Linked DNA regions of Homo sapiens: all the other regions are linked to region 3. The links are contacts of gene promoters, found by promoter capture Hi-C in blood cells and fetal thymus (Javierre and others, 2016). All regions are on one chromosome and are shown on one strand. The core of a region is centred on a gene start or on the middle of the fragment in contact, and the rest is flanking DNA. Distances in the headings are between cores, read along the strand shown.

The links. The method cuts DNA at HindIII sites, captures the fragments that hold promoters and counts their contacts. A CHiCAGO score of 5 or more calls a contact.
Region 1: a fragment that was not itself captured here is called in contact with the fragment with the promoter of MAP1LC3B2 in region 3 in 9 of 17 cell types (naive B cells, total B cells, fetal thymus and 6 more); the score reaches 8.9 in naive B cells.
Region 2: a fragment that was not itself captured here is called in contact with the fragment with the promoter of MAP1LC3B2 in region 3 in 6 of 17 cell types (naive CD8 T cells, erythroblasts, M2 macrophages and 3 more); the score reaches 7.2 in naive CD8 T cells.
Region 4: a fragment that was not itself captured here is called in contact with the fragment with the promoter of MAP1LC3B2 in region 3 in 3 of 17 cell types (monocytes, total B cells and neutrophils); the score reaches 6.8 in monocytes.
Region 5: a fragment that was not itself captured here is called in contact with the fragment with the promoter of MAP1LC3B2 in region 3 in 3 of 17 cell types (neutrophils, M0 macrophages and M2 macrophages); the score reaches 8.0 in neutrophils.
Region 6: a contact is called between a fragment that was not itself captured here and the fragment with the promoter of MAP1LC3B2 in region 3, in 14 of 17 cell types (naive B cells, megakaryocytes, non-activated CD4 T cells and 11 more). The highest score is 13.7, in naive B cells.
Region 7: a contact is called between a fragment that was not itself captured here and the fragment with the promoter of MAP1LC3B2 in region 3, in 9 of 17 cell types (total B cells, naive CD4 T cells, monocytes and 6 more). The highest score is 9.3, in total B cells.

Annotation. Positions count from the first base shown.
Region 1 is chr12:116,085,812-116,088,511 of GRCh38, forward strand. All of the region lies in intron 4 of MED13L (mediator complex subunit 13L), which reads right to left. Among named protein-coding and RNA genes, the nearest start is that of MIR620, 61 kb to the right of the region's middle. The HindIII fragment of the contact is 193 bases long and covers 1,272-1,464 here.
Region 2 is chr12:116,103,155-116,105,854 of GRCh38, forward strand. The region is part of intron 3 of MED13L (mediator complex subunit 13L); the gene reads right to left. Among named protein-coding and RNA genes, the nearest start is that of MIR620, 44 kb to the right of the region's middle. The HindIII fragment of the contact is 2,637 bases long and covers 27-2,663 here.
Region 3 is chr12:116,558,117-116,560,816 of GRCh38, forward strand. It overlaps MAP1LC3B2 (microtubule associated protein 1 light chain 3 beta 2), which reads left to right and starts at 1,265. Exons shown (of 2, transcript NM_001085481.3): 1 at 1,265-1,317. RefSeq lists enhancers at 760-1,269, 1,109-1,448, 1,669-1,718, 1,759-1,858. The HindIII fragment of the contact is 18,876 bases long and covers 1-2,700 here.
Region 4 is chr12:116,186,739-116,189,438 of GRCh38, forward strand. The region is part of intron 2 of MED13L (mediator complex subunit 13L); the gene reads right to left. Among named protein-coding and RNA genes, the nearest start is that of MIR620, 39 kb to the left of the region's middle. The HindIII fragment of the contact is 2,822 bases long and covers 1-2,700 here.
Region 5 is chr12:116,127,663-116,130,362 of GRCh38, forward strand. The region is part of intron 2 of MED13L (mediator complex subunit 13L); the gene reads right to left. Among named protein-coding and RNA genes, the nearest start is that of MIR620, 20 kb to the right of the region's middle. The HindIII fragment of the contact is 2,807 bases long and covers 48-2,700 here.
Region 6 is chr12:116,143,991-116,146,690 of GRCh38, forward strand. The region is part of intron 2 of MED13L (mediator complex subunit 13L); the gene reads right to left. Among named protein-coding and RNA genes, the nearest start is that of MIR620, 3.3 kb to the right of the region's middle. The HindIII fragment of the contact is 1,525 bases long and covers 494-2,018 here.
Region 7 is chr12:116,161,766-116,164,465 of GRCh38, forward strand. All of the region lies in intron 2 of MED13L (mediator complex subunit 13L), which reads right to left. Among named protein-coding and RNA genes, the nearest start is that of MIR620, 14 kb to the left of the region's middle. The HindIII fragment of the contact is 2,398 bases long and covers 86-2,483 here.

The DNA of each region.
Region 1 (2,700 bases), core at 118-2,617, 470 kb before region 3:
ACATGTTATTGATAAATTTAGAGGTAAAATGCCAGAAGAAACAGAAATCTTACTTCAGGGGAGCAACTCAAAGAAGAGAGATGGAATTTAACTTGAATTGCCAGGGAAGACAGAGTGGGTGGGAGAGAAAGAATATGAACAATGAGAAAATGAGTTTAGACTATGCTAGAACTGTGAAGGACAACTCTGGCTGGATAAAATGGCTTCTGCTGGGGAGCAGAAATGCTAGACAACGCTTGGGCGATCCCTACACAATTGACACCACATTATGTTCTTCTATTGGAGAGTGCTTCACCAAAAGTAGTCTAACCAAAGTATATACGAGGGCAGAGTGATTTGAAACAAAAGAAACTACAAGTCAAGAGACATAGGCAGAAGACAACAAAAACAGACCTAACATTCTATCAAGGAGGCAGCTCCACAGTTTCCGTAAAATGTAGTATTTTAATTTAGCAGTTTTCCACGATAATTCTTTTTTTTTTTTTTTTGAGACAAGAGTCTCATTCTTGTTGCCCAGGCTTGAATGCAACAGTGGGATCTCAGCTCACTGCAACCTCCGCCTCCCGGGTTCAAGCGATTCTCCTGCCTCAGCTCCTGACTAGCTGGGATTACAGACTTGCACCACCACGCCCAGCTAATTTTGTATTTTTAGTAGAGACGGAGTTTCTCCATGTTGGTCAGGCTGGTCTCAAACTCCCGACCTCAAGTGATCTGCCTGTCTCGGCCTCCCAAAGTGCTAGGATTACAGGCGTGAGCTACTGTGCCCGCCCCATGATATTCTTTAACCATAAATATCAAGCTATTATACTTCAATCTTATACAACTGTTAATAAAATCCTAAATGAAGCATGCAAGCCACACTTAACAGGTTCTCAGAGACAGATCTAATAATTTCTACGAACCATACTTAAAAGCTTTATTTTTATAACATCATTTAACACTCCACAACAAATAGTCATATTGTTATAATATACATTATGCATTTTCAAAATTTTTTCCTTTGACTCCATAAAAGGATAGCAACAGAACCACAATGCTAGTAAACACCATATTTTCAAATTCATACCAAAATCATGGTGATTTCAAACATTTGGTAAGACTACTTCTTTAAAATTAGAAAACAGCTGATGTCATTATTTTAGGGGTAAAATCAGTATACGATATGACATTTCTTATATTGCCATTATGTAGAAAGATTTATAGTAGAAACACCTACCTTATTTAATGCAAATTGTGTATATAAAAACTGATTCACAAATATTTGATTGGCAAGCTTTCTCTAGTACAAGAAATTACCAACATCATAAAAAATTCTCCTTATTTTTTTCTAAATATTACTACCACCAGTTTCACTACTAATAGCAAACAGCTACCATTACACAATAACCAGATGTTAGGTTCTGTATTAGCTACTTTATTTATGCTATCTTATTCAATACCATAAAATTCATCACAAAAAAGGCAAGCTTAAGTGAGTAATTTCAAGCTTAATAGAATTTATGTAATCTTTTTCTTAACATTTTAAATTGTTTCCTTAAACTAATGAGGAAAAAAATGTTAGAAAAAAAAGTGTAAAGTCAACCAAAAGCAAAAATATGAAACTGTATTCTTAACCATCTTTCCAGAAATGAATATTCTTGTCGAAAGAGAAATGTTCTGAAATCTAACTCTAATCTACAATGCTTTCCCCCTGCTGCCAAGTTGCTACACAGATGCCACAGTCAGAAAATTTTACCAAGTGTGATCACACTTTTCAAAGAAAGGACCCCATTTACTAACAGCACACTACGAATCAAACAGGCAGCCATCCCTCAATCGCCTCCATTCCCCTTACAATCCTATCATCTGCCTTTCAGCCTTGTTTGGTCACCTCCCAGACCTTCCTTCCTCTTACTGGTCTGTCTCATTTCTCATCATCCTACCTCATTCTGCAAAAAAAAGTTCATAAGGGCTGTTAAGAAACATTTGTATAGAGCACTAAAAGTGCATCAGGAAAAGGTTTTATATAAATGTTAACTCCAAATATATAATAAAGATCTTTTATGTCTATACATTTTTTAAAAGATGGTACCCTCCTTGACAAAGGATGGTATGCAACGTCAAGTTTTACATCCTAAAATACGTATCAGGTTCCCCATCCAGTAGTACAAAGTAGTTCCTTCCACTCCAACATGACACTCCCTTTAAATAACAACTATAAATTATGAAGAAGATATTAAAATCTGCAAAAACCTGAGTTACCAAATGCAGGAAGATCCTGGGGGAGGGGAAAGAGTTTACCACCAGAAGGAGGAAATGGCACTGAATCAATCATCCTCATTCTCATCACAGTTGTCCACCTACCCCTCCACCCCCCTTTTTAAACAGTTTGTAGCATAGGGCAGACTGAACCACAACAGCTAAAACTAACAGAAACCCGACCTTGGTTCTTAGTGGCAAAGAACCAGAGGACTGAGTTAAAGAGACCACAGCTGCTGAAAATGAGAATAGAAATTCTGGAAAGAAGAGAATCAAAGACACAAACTCTGCCCAAATCTCTGGCCAATTCCTACACTATGTGCATGGTGCAGGCTCTCAACAGCCCTCGGAAGGCTAAAACAGTGGTTTTCAACCAGGGGTGACTTGCCCTCCCAAGGAAAATCTGGCACTATCTGGAGACATTTTGGGTTGTCACGACTGAGGGAGGAGGGTGTGACTGGC
Region 2 (2,700 bases), core at 95-2,594, 450 kb before region 3:
AATGTCCATTCTAATGTAATTCCAAAAGCTTTATCTCTCCTCTAGTTTTAAACTTTTAATGTCTAATCTCATTCTCCAACTACCAAATAAAATTATGTACTTATTTATTTATGTTTAGAGACAGAGTCTCACTCTGTTGCCCAGGCTGGAGTGCTGTGGCAGATCAGAGCTCACTACAGCCTCAAACTCCTGGGCTGAAGCCATCCTCCTGCCTTGGCCCCACAAATAGCTGGGACTACAAGTGCACATGTCACCACAATCAGCTAATCTTTATTTTTTATTTCTTTAGTTTTAATTTACTTTTATTTTTATTTAGAGATGGGGGTCTCGCTTTGTTGCCCAGCCTGGTCTCAAACTCCTGGCCTCAAGCAATCCTCCTGACTCAGCCTCCTGAGTAGCTGGGCTTAGAGGCACAAGCCGCTGCTCCCAGATCAATTTTGTTTTTTAAATTTAAAGTCTTAATTCCTTCCCTTGACTGAAAAATATTCACTAAATAGCTACACAGACTGATTAGTCTCAGGGTGAATGTTTCTTTCTAGACATTTACAAATAGACATGTGCTTTCAGTCACTTGTTCTACGATATCTGTACTGTCTCTTTCATTAAAGTATATGCTCCTTAAGTCTAAAGACTCATTCTCCTACTTTCTTTAGAGAAATAAACACTGTTATTTCAATAAAATTGGTATTTATTGATTACTCATTTCTTGCTCCTGTTATCACATTATACCCAACGACTGTCAATGTTACATCACGATTTCTTCAACTAGGGCGGTACATCCCACCATGCTCCAGTGAGTATGTTATTCTGAAATCCCTTCACCACCACATCCAAGGACATTGCTCTTTTTTTTTTTTTTTTTTTTTTTTTTTTGAGACGGAGTTTCACTCTTGTCGCCCAGACTGGAGTGCAATGGCACGGTCTTGGCTCACTGCAACCTCCGCCTCCCAGGTTCAAGTGATTCTCCTGCCTCAGTCTCCCAAGTAGCTGGGATTACAGGCATGTGCAACCACACCTGTCTAATTTTGCATTTTTAGTAGAGTCAGAGTTTCATCATGTTGGTCAGGGTGGTCTCAAACTCCTGACCTCAGGTGATCCACCTGTCTCGGCCTCCCAAAGTGCTGGGACTACAGGTGTGAGCCATGTGTCCGGCCTCATTTGCCCTTTGATAATCACCTCTATTGCATCACCTCTATTACAATATCACAACACATTGAAAGATAGGAATAGACAAATATAATGCTATTGTTATCATAATTATAATTTCAATTTTCCCCACATTATTTTCACTGTATATTCCAAGTAAAATATCTTAACTCTAAACACTGAATCTTGGCAAACAGAGCAGCTCTGGGCCAAAGGCAATTTTACAGCTGTGTTATAAACTACCATGGGGTAAATATGCTAACAATCCATTAGTACAGCAGCACCAGCTGACTGCTCTGAAGAGCCATTATGTTTTACAAATGTCAGATACCCACAGATTAAAGTCTCCCTAAGTAAGTATGGACATGATTAAGCATAAAACAACTTCAAAAGACCCAAGTAATCTTCTCTTGTATGCAAAGCAATCATCTGCATTTCAGAGAAAAAAATGAGCTTTCTATTGAAATTAACATATATTTTATTCTAAAAAGTTAAGAAAATTTAAAGTATACTACTGCACATAATGCCAATTTGACAGCACTGTGTCAGACCTTTCAAGTATTTCTACACAGCTAGAAAAGCGAGATTTTCCTAAGTCCCATATGTGGTACAAATCACTGAAGCAATAAGAAAAACTCTTTTAAGTTTTTGAACTGCACATATTTTCCGGCTTTTTAAAACTTTTACATCCAATATTTTACTTTATTTTGATAGAGTTAGGTGAAAAGGATATGGTATATTATGAAAACTTATACTAACTATCCTAACAAAGTAACAGCCATTAGGTCTGCAATACTAAAAATGCCAAATGAAGAAACTCTTGAAAAATGATTGCAGATTTTTTTTCCCATCGTCTATTGATAGCCAAAGTACTTTTCCCTAAGGAGTGTGAGGCAATCTGAACTTAAAACACAAAGTGTAACCTTTGAGAAGTTAATCATAAATACCTAACAAAATTTCCCTAAATTGAGGACTGATAAAGAACAATCTCAACTGGTGCATTATTAGAAAGGGAGGAAGGATGGAAAGAAGTAGAGGGGACTAGCAGAGACTCTACATAAGTAAAAACTACATTTTATCATTCTGCGCATTTTATCATTCTGTGCATTTTTCCAACAAAAAAAGATAACTGATCATTAAGAAAATAGGAAGCACATTTACTTTTTCAAAAGCAAGGAAAAATAAGTGTAATTGCATGATCTAAAACTATAAAATTCAGAATGTATACTCTCAGATACTGAAATTCTGACAAATTACAAATAAAAAATGTACCAGAAGAAGCCAATAAGACTCAAAGTTTTAAAAACCAGGTATAAATATAGCCATAGGTATGTTTCAGAAACATATCTGTTTCAGTAACATAACTGGCCAGCTGTCTGGAAGACAGATTACAGTAACAGAACGGGAAGATAACTCAATTAATAGGTATGGCAGACATATTCTTTTCCCAAAGGTATACTATCCCAATGTGTATACTATATAAATAAATGCTATCCCTTCCTGTCCCACTGATATCAAGCTTGGCCATGTACCTTGGGTATCTTCCTACTGAAA
Region 3 (2,700 bases), core at 15-2,514:
GAGGGAAATGAAAGGAGAGGATTGGGGAAGAAACACCTTCTATTTTTTTTTTTTTTTTTTTTTTTTAGAGACAGGGTCTTGCTCTGTCACCCAGGCTGCAGCCTGGACCTCTTGGGCTCAAGGGATCCTCCCACCTTAGCCTCCTGTGTAGCTGGGACCACAGGCGTGCACCGCCACACCCAGCTAATTTTTTTTATTTTTTTGCAGAGATGGGGTCTCTCTATGTTGCCCAGGCTGGCCTCAAACTCCTGGGCTCAAGTGATCCTCCCTTCTCGGCCTCCCAAAGTACTGGGATTACAGGGGTGAGCCACCTCACCTGTACAGCTTCTTTGGAGAATGGGCCTGGGCAGGTCAAACAGGGGCCACTCTACACCATCATGGCACAGCAAGAGCTGGGCTATGTAGGTTCAGTATTCTTTGTCATTTAATCCTTGTGACGACCTCGTGTCATCATTGCTGTTTTACAGATAAGGAACTGAGGCTCAGAGAGGTTCAGTGTCACAGCTAGCATTTCACTTACATATCACAGAGCAAAGGCTCTCTTTGTCCAGAGACAACGTGCCTTTAGGTGATAGAGCTAGGACTGGAACCCAAGTCTATCTGACTCAAAGTCCACACAGCTTGTCCCCCATCCCGCAGGGACCTCTCCACGCTAGTGAGCCCCACGAAACCCCCTCAGTGCTTCGTTCCAGTCTTTTACCTTCAAGCCCAGTCAGCGAGTTCTTTATTTCCACAAATGGTGCTATTAAACTAATGGCTTCGGGAGCTATAGGCTGGCCTCGGCACAGTTACACATCTCTCCACCCACCATGTTCTGGCTTCCAAATAAATACATTGGAAATTCCAGGAGCCGAAGCCCATTTGGAAACGTTTCCGGGCCACCATTTTGCTTTGGGATGGGCAAGAAGAGACACCCTAAACTTGAACTCCTGTCTGTGCAGCCTCCAGCCGGCCAGGCGCTAAATAAGGCCACGGCCCGTTTCCTCCTTCAAAAGTCCCTTGTAAAGGGCGATAGCAGACCCCATCAGGCAAAAAGCTGAGAAGCCAGGGTTGAAATAGAGGCCTCTTTCTGTTTGGTCAATCAGCAGCTGCAAAGGATGCGTAGGATGGAGCTAAATTTATTTGTTCCTTTCTTTCTCAGCAACAGCGACGAGGCCCGAGGTGCAGCTGTCTCGCCTCGCCTGTCTTTTGCAGGCACCGGCATGCACAGAAGATGGCTCTCCGGGAGGAAGATTCCTTTCCATTTTGTTCTCTCTCTGCCTCCGCAAGGCTCGCAGCCACCTCTCGGGAGTGCAGGGCCAGATCCTGTGCCAGCGGGTAGGAATATGTAGCTGCCTCCCAGCCCCAGGGTGGAAATCATGACCTTTGAGAAGCAGGCAAGCTGCACGGCATAGATACTCAGGCCTGGTGAAGGCAAAGTGGGGCCACACCCTAGAAAAACCACAAAAGTCCCCACAGCCTCTGCTTTCACTAGTCAGACCTGTGGGAAACTTGTAAGACACAGTCCATGTGATCGGCGGGTGGGGGCATGTTGGGAGGGGCCTTCCGAAGGCCACAGCCAGGCTGGCAGGGCAGAGTCCTTTCCAGAATTTATCTGTTTGCTTAAAGCCCAGCGGAGGGGCCACCTTCAGTCAACCCTCCAGCATACTGGTCCAAGTAGTTTTTTCAAAGTGCTTTGTGAGACTTTCAAAAGGTACCCATGGGGAGGGAAGTGAGAGGAGGAGGAGGGGACGGTGAAGAAACAGCTTCTTTATTTCTAGCCTTGCTTGAATGGCTTCTTGACGGTTACTGCTCCAGTTTTGCTGAGTCAGAAGAATCCCACAGCCGCTCACCGGAAACACAGCTGTTGGGCAAAAATAACCACAGAGCTGAGCATCATGCACCTTCCAGAAAAGATGGCAGAAAACCTCAAAACAAAAGAGAAATACAAAACAATAGGAGACACTGTCAAGAAAAAAAAAACAAAAACAAAAACCACCGCAGCTCACTAACCGATCCAAGCTGGTGGCGCTCTCCTGATCTCTCTCCACTCCCAGGCCCAGCAACGGCTCTGAAATAAAGCTAAGTTTGGCTATATATATATATATATATATATATATATATATATATATATATATATATATATGTATGTATATGTATATATATATATTTAGATAGAGTCTTCCTCTGTCGCCCAGGCTGGAATGCAGTGGCGCGCTCTCGGCTCGCTGCAACCTCTGCCTCCTGGGTTCAAGTGATTCTCCTGCCTCAGCCTTCCGACTAGCTGGGATTACAGGTGCGCCACCACGCCCAGCTAATTTTTGTATTTTTAGTAGAGACGAGGTTTCGCCATGTTGGCCAGGCTGGTCTCGAACTCCTGACCTCAAGTGATCCGCCCACCTCGGCCTCCCAAAGTCTTGGGATTACAGGTGTGAACCATCACATCTGGCCTACTTTTACACTGTAGTGGGTTTAATAGTGTCTCCCCAGTCACACCTCCACCAAAAAAAGAAAAGATATGTCCACAGTCTAATGTGCTGCAGCACCTGTGAATGTGACCTTAATGGAGAAAGGATCTTTGCAGGTGTAAATTAATTTTAGGATCTCAAGATTGAATCATCCTAGACTACCTGGGTGGACCTCAAATCCAATGACAGGTATCCTTATAAAAGGAAGGCAGATCCAGCTTGGGCAACATAGGGAGACCCTGTTTCTACAAAT
Region 4 (2,700 bases), core at 93-2,592, 370 kb before region 3:
AAGGTCAAAACCTAAAACACAAAACAGGGTAGACACAGAAACACTGAAGAGCACAGATCCAATAATAACTTTTATAATTTCCTCTAGTTCTAAAAGTCCATATTTAATGTACCACTGTTGTTCCTCTCAACAGCAACCTAGAAAATGTGTTCCCAAGTCCACACTTTTCCATTCAAAATTCTTTCTATAACTAATCAAACCCATCTTTTCTACTGCTCTCCCAAACAAACCTTCAACTCCAAACAGCTGCTTCCTGCTATGCCGCACACAGCATGTTTATTAATACCCAATGCTTTGTACTCAGGCAGCTAGCACTTTCCTACCCACACTTGCCCCCATGTTTTTTGTTTTTGCCGAACTGCCTTAATGACTCCAGCTCACCGATTCCAGGCTATTACCTATAAAGTGAAATTTTGCATTTTATCATAGCTATAATGTGGGCTATTTTCTCTATGGAAGTCAATACAAAATAGTGGTTAAGACCAAGGACTATGGAGCCAGAGCCCCTCCTCTCTCACTTACGTGTTCTTTGGTTTGAGAGACTACTTGACCTCTCCATGCTTCAGTTTCCTGTCAATCAGCAGGAAATCATAGTATAGTCCCTACCTCACAGTAATGATAAAATGAGTTCATACATAAAAAGTGCTTTAAACAAAGCCTGACACACAAATAATGCTCCTATGTCAGTGTCTATCATTGTCATTTCTTCCAGTATCATGGTTTAATAGATCACCTCAGAACTATAAACTATCCCACAATGCTGGACACATATTGTTTTATGTAGAAGTTATATTTTAGTCATATGCTTTTAAGTCTTTCTCTGCAAAAGTTCAATTTATCAGGTTTTCTCTAACATGCTTATTTTATAATGTACAAGAGTATATCCTAAAATTATATTTCTATAATATAGAAGATATAACTATGCTAATCATAGGGGATGTATAGAAGTGAGTATCTGCTCTATTAAATCTGGAATCTGTACTGATCCAACTGTTCCATTTAATCAAATACCATGCAAACTATTAAGAGCTCCCTCTGACTTTAACAGCCGATTTCCCAGAGAAAGAGCAACTCGCTACTAAAAGATCTTAATAATACACAGGGCCTGGAGGGTACTGCTTTTTTTCTTTTTCTTTTATAAGTTAAAAAAAAAAAAAAAGGCTTTTCCTGTCAACAGAAATCAGTGAAAAGCCTCTTGAACACAGCAAGAAGGTAGGGTTGATTTTAGCCACAATGTAAGTCCCTGCAGAATTTCAGAGTGCCAACAACAGTGTCACTTTTCTCACTCATTCATTGGATTTATTTGTGGTTTTTCAGGACTACGATAATCTGTGCAACATTACTGGCTCCTCACCAGTATTACATTTTACATAACATAATTAACAAATTATTAAAAAAAAAAATCACTGTCATGTCACAGCTGCTATTATTAATCCTGAAAAGAAATTATAAACATAAAGGAATAAGTTAACTATATTATGGCTAACAAAACCAATTTTACATTTCTAAAACCATGTTTTTGAATAGTTTGAGCATAAGTATTCATGTAAAAAAGTACAGGGAAAGAAATCTACACCAAAATTAAAGGATACATTGAAGATCCTCAATTTTCAACAACTTACAAAGAATGAAAACAGTCACAGAAACAGAGTGATCTCAGTTCAAATTTTATATACCCAGCAATATATACAAATGCCAACAAGCTAGGTAAAACGGCAAATGAGTCCCTAGCTAGTAAGGGGAAAAGTAATTCACTTACATTAATTTTCAATTAAGTTTTAGTTTGTGTGAGATAGTCAGAGATTCACATGCAACTGTCAGAAATAATACCAAAAGATTCAGTGTACCCTTAACCCAGTTTTCCCAATGCTAACTCTTCCAAAACCGTAGTACAACATCACAACCAGCATATTGACACTGATATGGTCAAGATACAGACTATTTCCATCACAAGGATGCCTCATGTTCCCCTTTTATAGTTTCACCAACTTTCCTCCCACTTCCACCCCTCCTAAACCCCGACAACTACTAATTTTGCTGTATCTTTGTCATTTCAAGAACGTTACATAAATGGAATCATACACTATATAACCTTTGAGATTTTACTTTCCACTCAGCATCATTTTCTGGAGATTTATCCAGGTTACTGTATATCAAGACTTTGTTCCTTTTGTTACCCAGTAGTATTATATTGTATGGATATACAGTTTAACCTTTCATCTGCTGAAGGAGACCTGGGCTGTTTCCAGTTTAGGCTTTTACAAATAAAGCTGCTATAAACATTACGTATAGGTTTCTGCACAAACATACGTTTTCACTTCTCTGGGATAAATATCCAGGAATACAACTGCTAAATGATAGTTGGCATGTTTTGTTTTTTAAGAAACTCCAAACAGTTTTTATACACCCTCCAGCAACATCCTCTCCAGCATTTGGTGTTGTCACTAATTTTTCATTTTAGTCATTCTGTCAGGTGTGTAATGATAGTTCACTGTAGTTTTAAATGGCAATTTTGGTAAAAACTAATGATGCTGAACATCTTTTTATATGCTTACTTGCCATGTGTACATATCTCTTCGTATCTTTTGCCCATCTTCTAATTGGACTAGTTGGATTTTTTTTTAATACTTTGCGTTGAGAAATCTCTATATATACAAGTACTAGCTCTCTGTCAGACATGCGGTCTGCAAATATTTTTTC
Region 5 (2,700 bases), core at 201-2,700, 430 kb before region 3:
AAATTGTCATCCCGTTTCTTTTACAATCCAGCTTCATCAAGAAGCAAAGCTTTTTAAACTAGTCTCCCTGCTTTCACTCAAAGCACCTGAAGTCCATTATTCATGAGAGCCAAAGTAATCTTTTTCAAACCTTAAGTCACATCGTAGCATCCTGCCTCTTAAAGCCTTATTTTAATGGCTTCTCATGGAATTAATAATCTATTTAATAAGCTCCTTACCATGGCCTACAAGGCTCCACCTGATCAAACCTCTGTCTACCTCTTCCAACACCCTCTGTGTACTCATTTCAACAGCACTGGCCTTCTTTTTTCCAACAAAGTGAGCTCAAGACATCTGACTTCCTTTTCCTGTATCTGGCTGTCTCCTCCAAGCGGCATTCCCTACCTGACCCTCTAATGGAAAGTAGTCCTGTCCCAGTCAGTCACTTTCTCATCTATTGCTTTGTAGCAGACAACTGTAAGAAATTATTCATTTACTACTTGTCTTCTCACCCACAAAGAAGAATGTCAGCACGATATGTACAAGGGCAATGTCAATCCTTGTGTGCTTACTATACTGCAAAGAACCTTCCACAGAGAAAAACATTGTGACCCTGAGGAAAACATTCAAAGTGGAGCAAAATGCAACCTAATATGATTCTAAGGATTTTTATACTACGCAAAATAGCCAAACAGACACGTTTATAAAAGGCTTAGCTTTTCTTCCTACTGACAATTGAAGGCTCTTACTTGAACCCTTGATAATCAACAAGATTAGAATGACTAATGAAGGGTATTCTTGAGGAAAAAAAAAAACAAGAAAATAAATTAAAATACCACAATAAACTCACAATGTAAAGTAGTTACTGTCATGAAGTGGGTCTCCTAAGAGTTTAATGTTTTAAAATCAGGCAACTTTAACTTATAAAACTTCTATCCCAATAAGAAACATTTAGAAATGGAATTAACTCTTTATTCTCTTTCCTATGCATAATTCATTCTACTTATCAACTCTATAGGCTATTACTACAGATGATAGCTCTTAATCACTATAAATTTACAATGTCCTATCAGTCGTGTTCATTATATCTGAAATAACAAAATAAAGTTACACAGTTATGGAGTGATATTAAATTAAATTCATATTACATATTGATGTAAGTGCATGTAAACAAGAATAGGGCATATGTGTTCCATGTTCCATTCTATTAGGTACAATGAGCTAAGGTCCCTACAGTATTTATCATAAGCCACATCTACAAAGGTTGAGGAATCTTTTATTTTCCCTTGAAGAATGAGGGGGAACATAATGCAAAAAAAAATAAAAGTGGAAAAATGCTGTAGCAGCATTTTTGTGGACGTTTTAGTAATTTTATATTATTTTCTTCCTGGAAAATCAGCTTCCATATAATTATTCTCAAGTATCTCTGGCTTATTCATACACCATATTTTTGTGATTGTTTCTCACCAATTTTTAAAACAGAATTATTTTTAATAAAGTATAACTCAAGGCTGGGCATGGTGGCTCATGCCTGTAATCCCAGCACTTTGGGAGGCCGAGGCAGGTGGATAAAAATATTTATCATCTATTTGAGGATAACCCAAATATTATACTCTGAGACAGATTACTAAAAATCCCATTTTCAGGAGAGTTATTAAAATGAAGGTGAAGAGAGAAGAAACTGAAATACAATGGCTCTTTTAAATCAGCTAGACAACTATTCACTATTCGTATTCATTTTGTATCCTTCAGTCTAGAAAAAGCAAGGCCCTTTTTAACTTTCAATTAGTCATACACTGTCCTGTTTATTTTTTCTCTAGCCATTTTGCCCCTTTGGAGGTGAACGTAAATTAAATCAAAGACATATAACACACAGACACTAATTTGGGAGTGGATTTTTGCCTACCCAAACCAGACATTACGCCTTGGCAAGGGAGCAGCTCTGTATAAATAAGACTATTCACAAGATAGAAATGATCAGCACAGGCCGGGCACGGTGGCTCACGCCTGTAATCCCAGCACTCTGGGAGGCCAAGGTGGGCGGATCACCCAAGGTCAGGAGTTCGAGACCAGCCTGGCCAACATAGTGAAACCCCATCTCTACTAAAAATACAAAAATTAGCTGTACATGGTGGCGCGTGCCTGTAGTCTCAGCTACTCTGGAGGCTGAGGCAGGAGAATCACTTGAAACAGGGAGGTGGAGGTTGTAGTGAGCCGAGATCGTGCCACGGCACTCCAGCCTGGGCAACAGAGTGAGACTCAGTCTCAAAAAAAAAAAAAAGAAAGAAAGAAAGAAAGAAAGAATGAAATGATCAGCACATATCCATTTACCTCAAGAGTAGTCACCAAAACTTCAAAGTGCCATTAAGAACAGCATCAATGCTTTTGTCTAAAAGATCTCAGAGGCTCTATAACAGACCCTTGATATCATAAACATTCATGACTTTCCAGGAAACCAACAGGTTTCTTAAACTCACAAAAAACTGCCTAAACATTTTTGATTAACTATGAAAATCATACTCTCCTTTGAAAGTGATCATACTTGTATAAATTTAAGAAAAAAAATCTTGGCCACACTGGAATAACATAAAAATGTTTTATACTTGCTTTACTTTAGTTCAGGTTAAGAATGACTATTTTAAAAATAAAACTCTCCAGATTGTGCAGCTTCAATTTTCCACTGCTCATTTTCTATGACAATCTGACCAAGAATTCCCCACA
Region 6 (2,700 bases), core at 6-2,505, 410 kb before region 3:
TAGAAGCCAGGTGATTACCCAGAGCCACAGAACAGGCACACAGGCAGTTTCTCTTTGCTTGGCCTTTCCTTTGCCCCTGTGTTCCATACACAGCACACAAGAAAGGATTCTGACTGAGCTGAGAAATTCCTGCTATTTCACTGCCCCAACAGCTTAACTCACAGCCCTGAAATACTCACACCATTAACTCATGTGATTCCATTTAAAAGAATGTTTCACAAAAACCTTTCCTCATTACTAAATGAAACTCAGCCATCACCGATAAAGTCCACATCCTAATTTTGGATGAGAAGTAAGGGTGGTGCCCAACTACTCCTCAAATTTCCCCCATCTCTTGTCCTTCACTGTCCCAAAGGGCCCAGCTCCCAACAGTTCGACCCTGATAGTGAACTGAGATCCCATTTCTGAAATTCTGGGTGATTCCAAAACTGAGTTTGGTCTGAGAATCTTTGTCCCAAATCTATTTCCTCACAAAAAAATTCCCTAAAGAAAAAGCTTACCCCAAAACATAAAATCTTGGCTCAAAGCATGCTCAATATAAGTTCTGCATGTTTGTGGTTAATCAATGTGGCTAATACAACTAATAGCTGACCTACTGTAGTTTTTACTATGAATTCAGAGTACATTTTCTGAAACTCCAACTACTTTATGCAAACATTTTTAAAGATTAACTGAGATAACACGTAAAGGTGCTTAAAATAGTGTCTCTGGCAGAGAATATGTTCCATAAAAGTGAGTGGGTTTTGTTTTCCCAAAAGGTAAGTCATCTGGGCACTGAATCTGATATGCAATTAGCAACATGAAATAACCTCTCTCTGGCTGCTGTACATTACCGTATCTAAGGAATTTAACTTATCTGCTATCTAATAATCAAAATTTATGCTACAACACCGCTTCAAGTTGCACTTCACTGCATCACTTGTACTGTTTCTGTCCCATGGTTGCTCCACTTAATTCATCCCATACCACTTATAAGGTAATTACGTGTATCTGTGCATCTCACAAAATACGCACATACTCTGTTGTCAGTACACTGACTTCACATTATGATCCTATTTTCTTCATATGGCCATTTAAATAAAACTGGCTTATCCAACATCACCTTCTTCAGAACAACAAATTAATATCTGCCTCATACCAAACAGGGTAGCGAAACTTCCACCTACCATCTATTGTTTGATAAGGCAATGCCAATGTCAACCAAACCAATAATAATCCTAAATGGCAGATGGAAATCCTTAACAAGGAATCCTGATACTCAATCTCTATGCACATCACTACATATCCTTAAGAAAAGGACTCCATGGTGTGCATACAAAGATTTCCTCATCACAGGCTGAAAAGCAACCTAGAACAGGTATTCTGGAACCGAGCCCAGGGGAGGCGGATGCTTGGCCTAGCTCATCTAAAAAGTACCTTCCAGTACTAAAATTCTAGGCTTTCCTGCTTCTATACAGTTGTTAAAATAAATGGCATACAGTTCCTCAGCAGTTGCTTCAAGCGCTTTTTTTTCTTTTCTCTTTGAGACAAGGTCTCACTCTGTCATTCAGGCTGGAGTGCAGTGGTGCGATCATAGCTCACTACAGCCTCAAACTCCTGGGTGCAAGTGATCCTCCCACCTCAGCCTCCAAGGAGCTAGGACTACAGGCACATGCACCACACTCAACTCTATTTATTTATTTATTTATTTATTTATTTATTTATTTATTTATTTTAAATTTTTGTAGAGTCTTGCTAAGTAGCCTTGGCTGGTCTTGAACTCCTGGCCTCAAGCAATTCTCCTGCCTTGGTCTCCCCAAGCGCTGGAACTAAATCTAGGTGACAGCCACTGTGCCTGGCCTCAAGCACATTTTTAGTCTAAGCCTCATGAAGTTTAAAAAAAAATCCCCACACATAGAGGCATGCTTTAATCGTATGTTCCAGGTTCTCTGCAATAAATAAACCAAATAAACCAAATTCTTTTCTATTTGTGACCCCAAAAAGTTTTTAAAATTCACTAGCAAACAGACTTTAAATCAAGCTTGTTGAACCCACAGCCCGCGGGCCGCATGAGGCCCAGAACGGCTTTGACTGCAGCCCAACACAAATTTGTAAACTTTCTTAAAACATTATGAGCTATTTTGAGATTTTTTTGTTTTTGTTGGTTTTTTTGAGATGGAGTCTCGCTCTGTCACCAGGCTGGAATGCAGTGGCGCAATCTCGGTTCACTGCAACCTCCACCTCCTGGGTTCAAGCGATTCTCCTGCCTCAGCCTCCCAAGTAGCTGGGACTACAGGTGTGTGCCACCATGCCCAGCTAATTTTTATGTTTTAGTAGAGATGGGCTTTCACCATGTTGGCCAAGATGGTCTCGATCTCCTGACCTTGTGATCTGCCAGCCTCAGCCTCCCAAAGTGCTGGGATTACAGGCGTGAGCCACCGCACCCAGCTGAGTTTGTTTTTTGTTTTTTCCTTTTTTTTTTTTAAAGCTCATCAGTTATCCTTAGTGTTCGTGTATGTTATATGTGGCCCAAGACAATTCTTCTTTCAGCATGGCCTAGGGAAACCGAAAGATTGGACACCCTGCTTTAAATCTTGATTAAATTCCCTAAATAGCCAACCATGGTGACTCACGCTTGTAATCCCAGCACTTTGGGAGACGAAGGCAGGGGGGACTGCTTGAGGCCAGGAATTCGAGACCAGCCTGGCCAACGTGAGGAAA
Region 7 (2,700 bases), core at 35-2,534, 400 kb before region 3:
ATATATATTGGCTTGAATATAAAATGACAGTGTTTTAACCTGAGTAAATTCCCTTGTGTTTCTAACCTAACCACTCCCCTCATCAAGCTTCTTCACTATTTATCCATATGCTCTCTATCACCTTTACTCACTGTATCTTTTTTTAAAAAAAGAAATGGAATATCTAACAAGTTCTTAGGTGACGGGGGCAGGGGGGCAAAGAAAAGAAACACGATCTTGTATAACTGACAATGGCTACATCCATGTGAATACTCCATATGGGAATAATAACCTTTCAAGTGTTAACAAAGTGGAGTCACTCATGCCAAATGTCATATAATCAAACTGCAACTGTAAGAAAGCAGATAGATCCCAAAACAGACGAGTTTTTCCTAAAAACAGGAGATTCTAGCCTACCTGAGTCAGAACAAGAAAGTCCCCTCTGCTTTAACCCTTATAAAAAAAAAGTAAACTGAAGTAATCTATTGTTAACTAATCAGCTTATTTTCCCCATTGTTATGTTTCCTCATTCCCACCTCACAAAACCCAATAGTCTGCCATTGCCCAGTAGAAGCTGTGATTCTATTAGAATGGAGGCTGCACCGATTCATGAATCGAGAATAAAAGCCAATTAGATACATAACTAAATGAGTTTTAATTTTGTCTTTTGACACAAGAGTAAAAGTGGATATGGAAATATCCATGTGAGTATGGACTAATACAAGAGGGTTAAGGATTGGTAAGCCTACATGGTTATTTATATAAACTCCATCCATGGATTTCATGTTGAATGTAAAGGCATAATCTTTCAGGCCCAAAGACATTTTAAATTTTTTAATGTTATCACATGTTTCCAACTTAACCTAGAAATTATTTAATCAATGTTTTGAGAAGAATTAAGTACTAGACAGTAACTATAAAATTACTTCAGAAACAATAAAATTCACATATCTCCAAATAAACCTATTTGGAAAATAATATGATCAATCTGTTATCTTGACCACTAATTTGTATATACAATTCCTCGTAAGTTATACTTTTATGTCAAGTGACTTTTTCTATTTTTCTCTTTTACTACGTCTTAACATTTTAAATGGTAAAAATTCAAGTTGAACTGATCATTGAAGTCTTATTAAATCAAGACTTTTAAAAATAAAGATAAAAAATAAATAAAGAGACAAGGTCTTGTTATATTGTCTAGGCCAGACTAGATTCAAACTCCTGGGCTCAAGTGATCCTTCCACCTCAGTCTTGAGAGTAGCTGGGACTACAACTCAGGCCACCATGCCGAGTTTAAATAAAGACATTTTTAATGCAAAATACAATTATTTCAGAATTTTTTATGACTTGGGACAATGGCAAGACTGAAGATTACTTTTGCTTAAACTATTTCTTCTCAAATAGTTACAAAATACAAACAAAACTGCCTAATATATTCATGAATCAAAACAAAGGTTTAGGTATGATAGAAGACACCAGAGGCAGGTATTTACAAATCAATAAGCTAATTGCACTATCATCCTTATTAGTTAAAAAGCCCTATCAAGTATATGACATTAAATATATATCTTTATATAATAAAAATTCATGAATAATTGCACTGTTTATAGGTGAAGAATTTTTTTTTTTTTTTTTTTTAAGACAGAGTCTTGCTCTGTCACCCACGCTGGAGGGCAATGGTGCGATCTCGGCTCACTGCAACCTCTGCCTCCCAGATTCAAGTGATTCTCCTGCCTCAGCCTCCTGAGTAGCTGGGATTACAGGTGTGCACCACCACACCCAGCTAATTTTTGTACTTTTAGTAGAGACAGGGTTTCACCATGTTGGTCAGGCTGGTCTCGAATTCCTGACCTCATGATCCACCTGCCTCGGCCTCCCAAAGTGCTGGGATTACACTGTGCCTGGCCAAGGTGAAGAATTTTTAAGTGTATTGAAAAGGGTATTTACAAAAATTCATAGTAAAGCCCTTCTAAATAGAGAAGTACACATATCATACATAATAACTGCTTAGAGATGAATTAAGCTGAAATTGCGTTTTTGAATTTTTTTATAAAGGAGACTATTTCCTAATATAAGCCAATCTCCCAGTAATATCTTCAAATTGCTAAGCCTATACTAGAGAAATCAAATTCACAATAATGGTATACTTCAATGCCATAATATCAAATGAATAAAGCAGTAATTTTCTTCATTCACTGAAGGCAGCACAGGACAAAAGAAGTAAAACTGAAAATGTTCTTCTTGGGAGAAAAAGGGAAATATTTTAAGTTCAATAGTAAGAGATGACCTATGTAAAATTCATCAGAATATTTCCCAGAAATTTTCACATACTTAAAAAGAAACAGGTCCATTCACAAGTTCACGAGCTATGACTGGGTTCAATGCTTGCTGCTCTTCAAGCACAGTATTTCATCATATATTTCATTCTTTTCCCATCAGCACTATGCACCAAGACACATGAAAGTGCATATCAAATAAAAAAACTGAATAGTTTCTTACCACAAAGCTTCACTTTTGTTATTTCAGAGACAGATATAAAAATGTATTTAAACAATCTCAAATAATTAACTCATGAGGTGACCCCACCTATCAACAATTCAACTTCCTCAACCAAAATCTTGTAAGTATGAAAGAAAAAAACCAACAACAAAAAAGGAGACTTAGGAACATAATAACAAAATACAAAAAAGAAACACATTTTGTTTATTTATTTAACTGAAA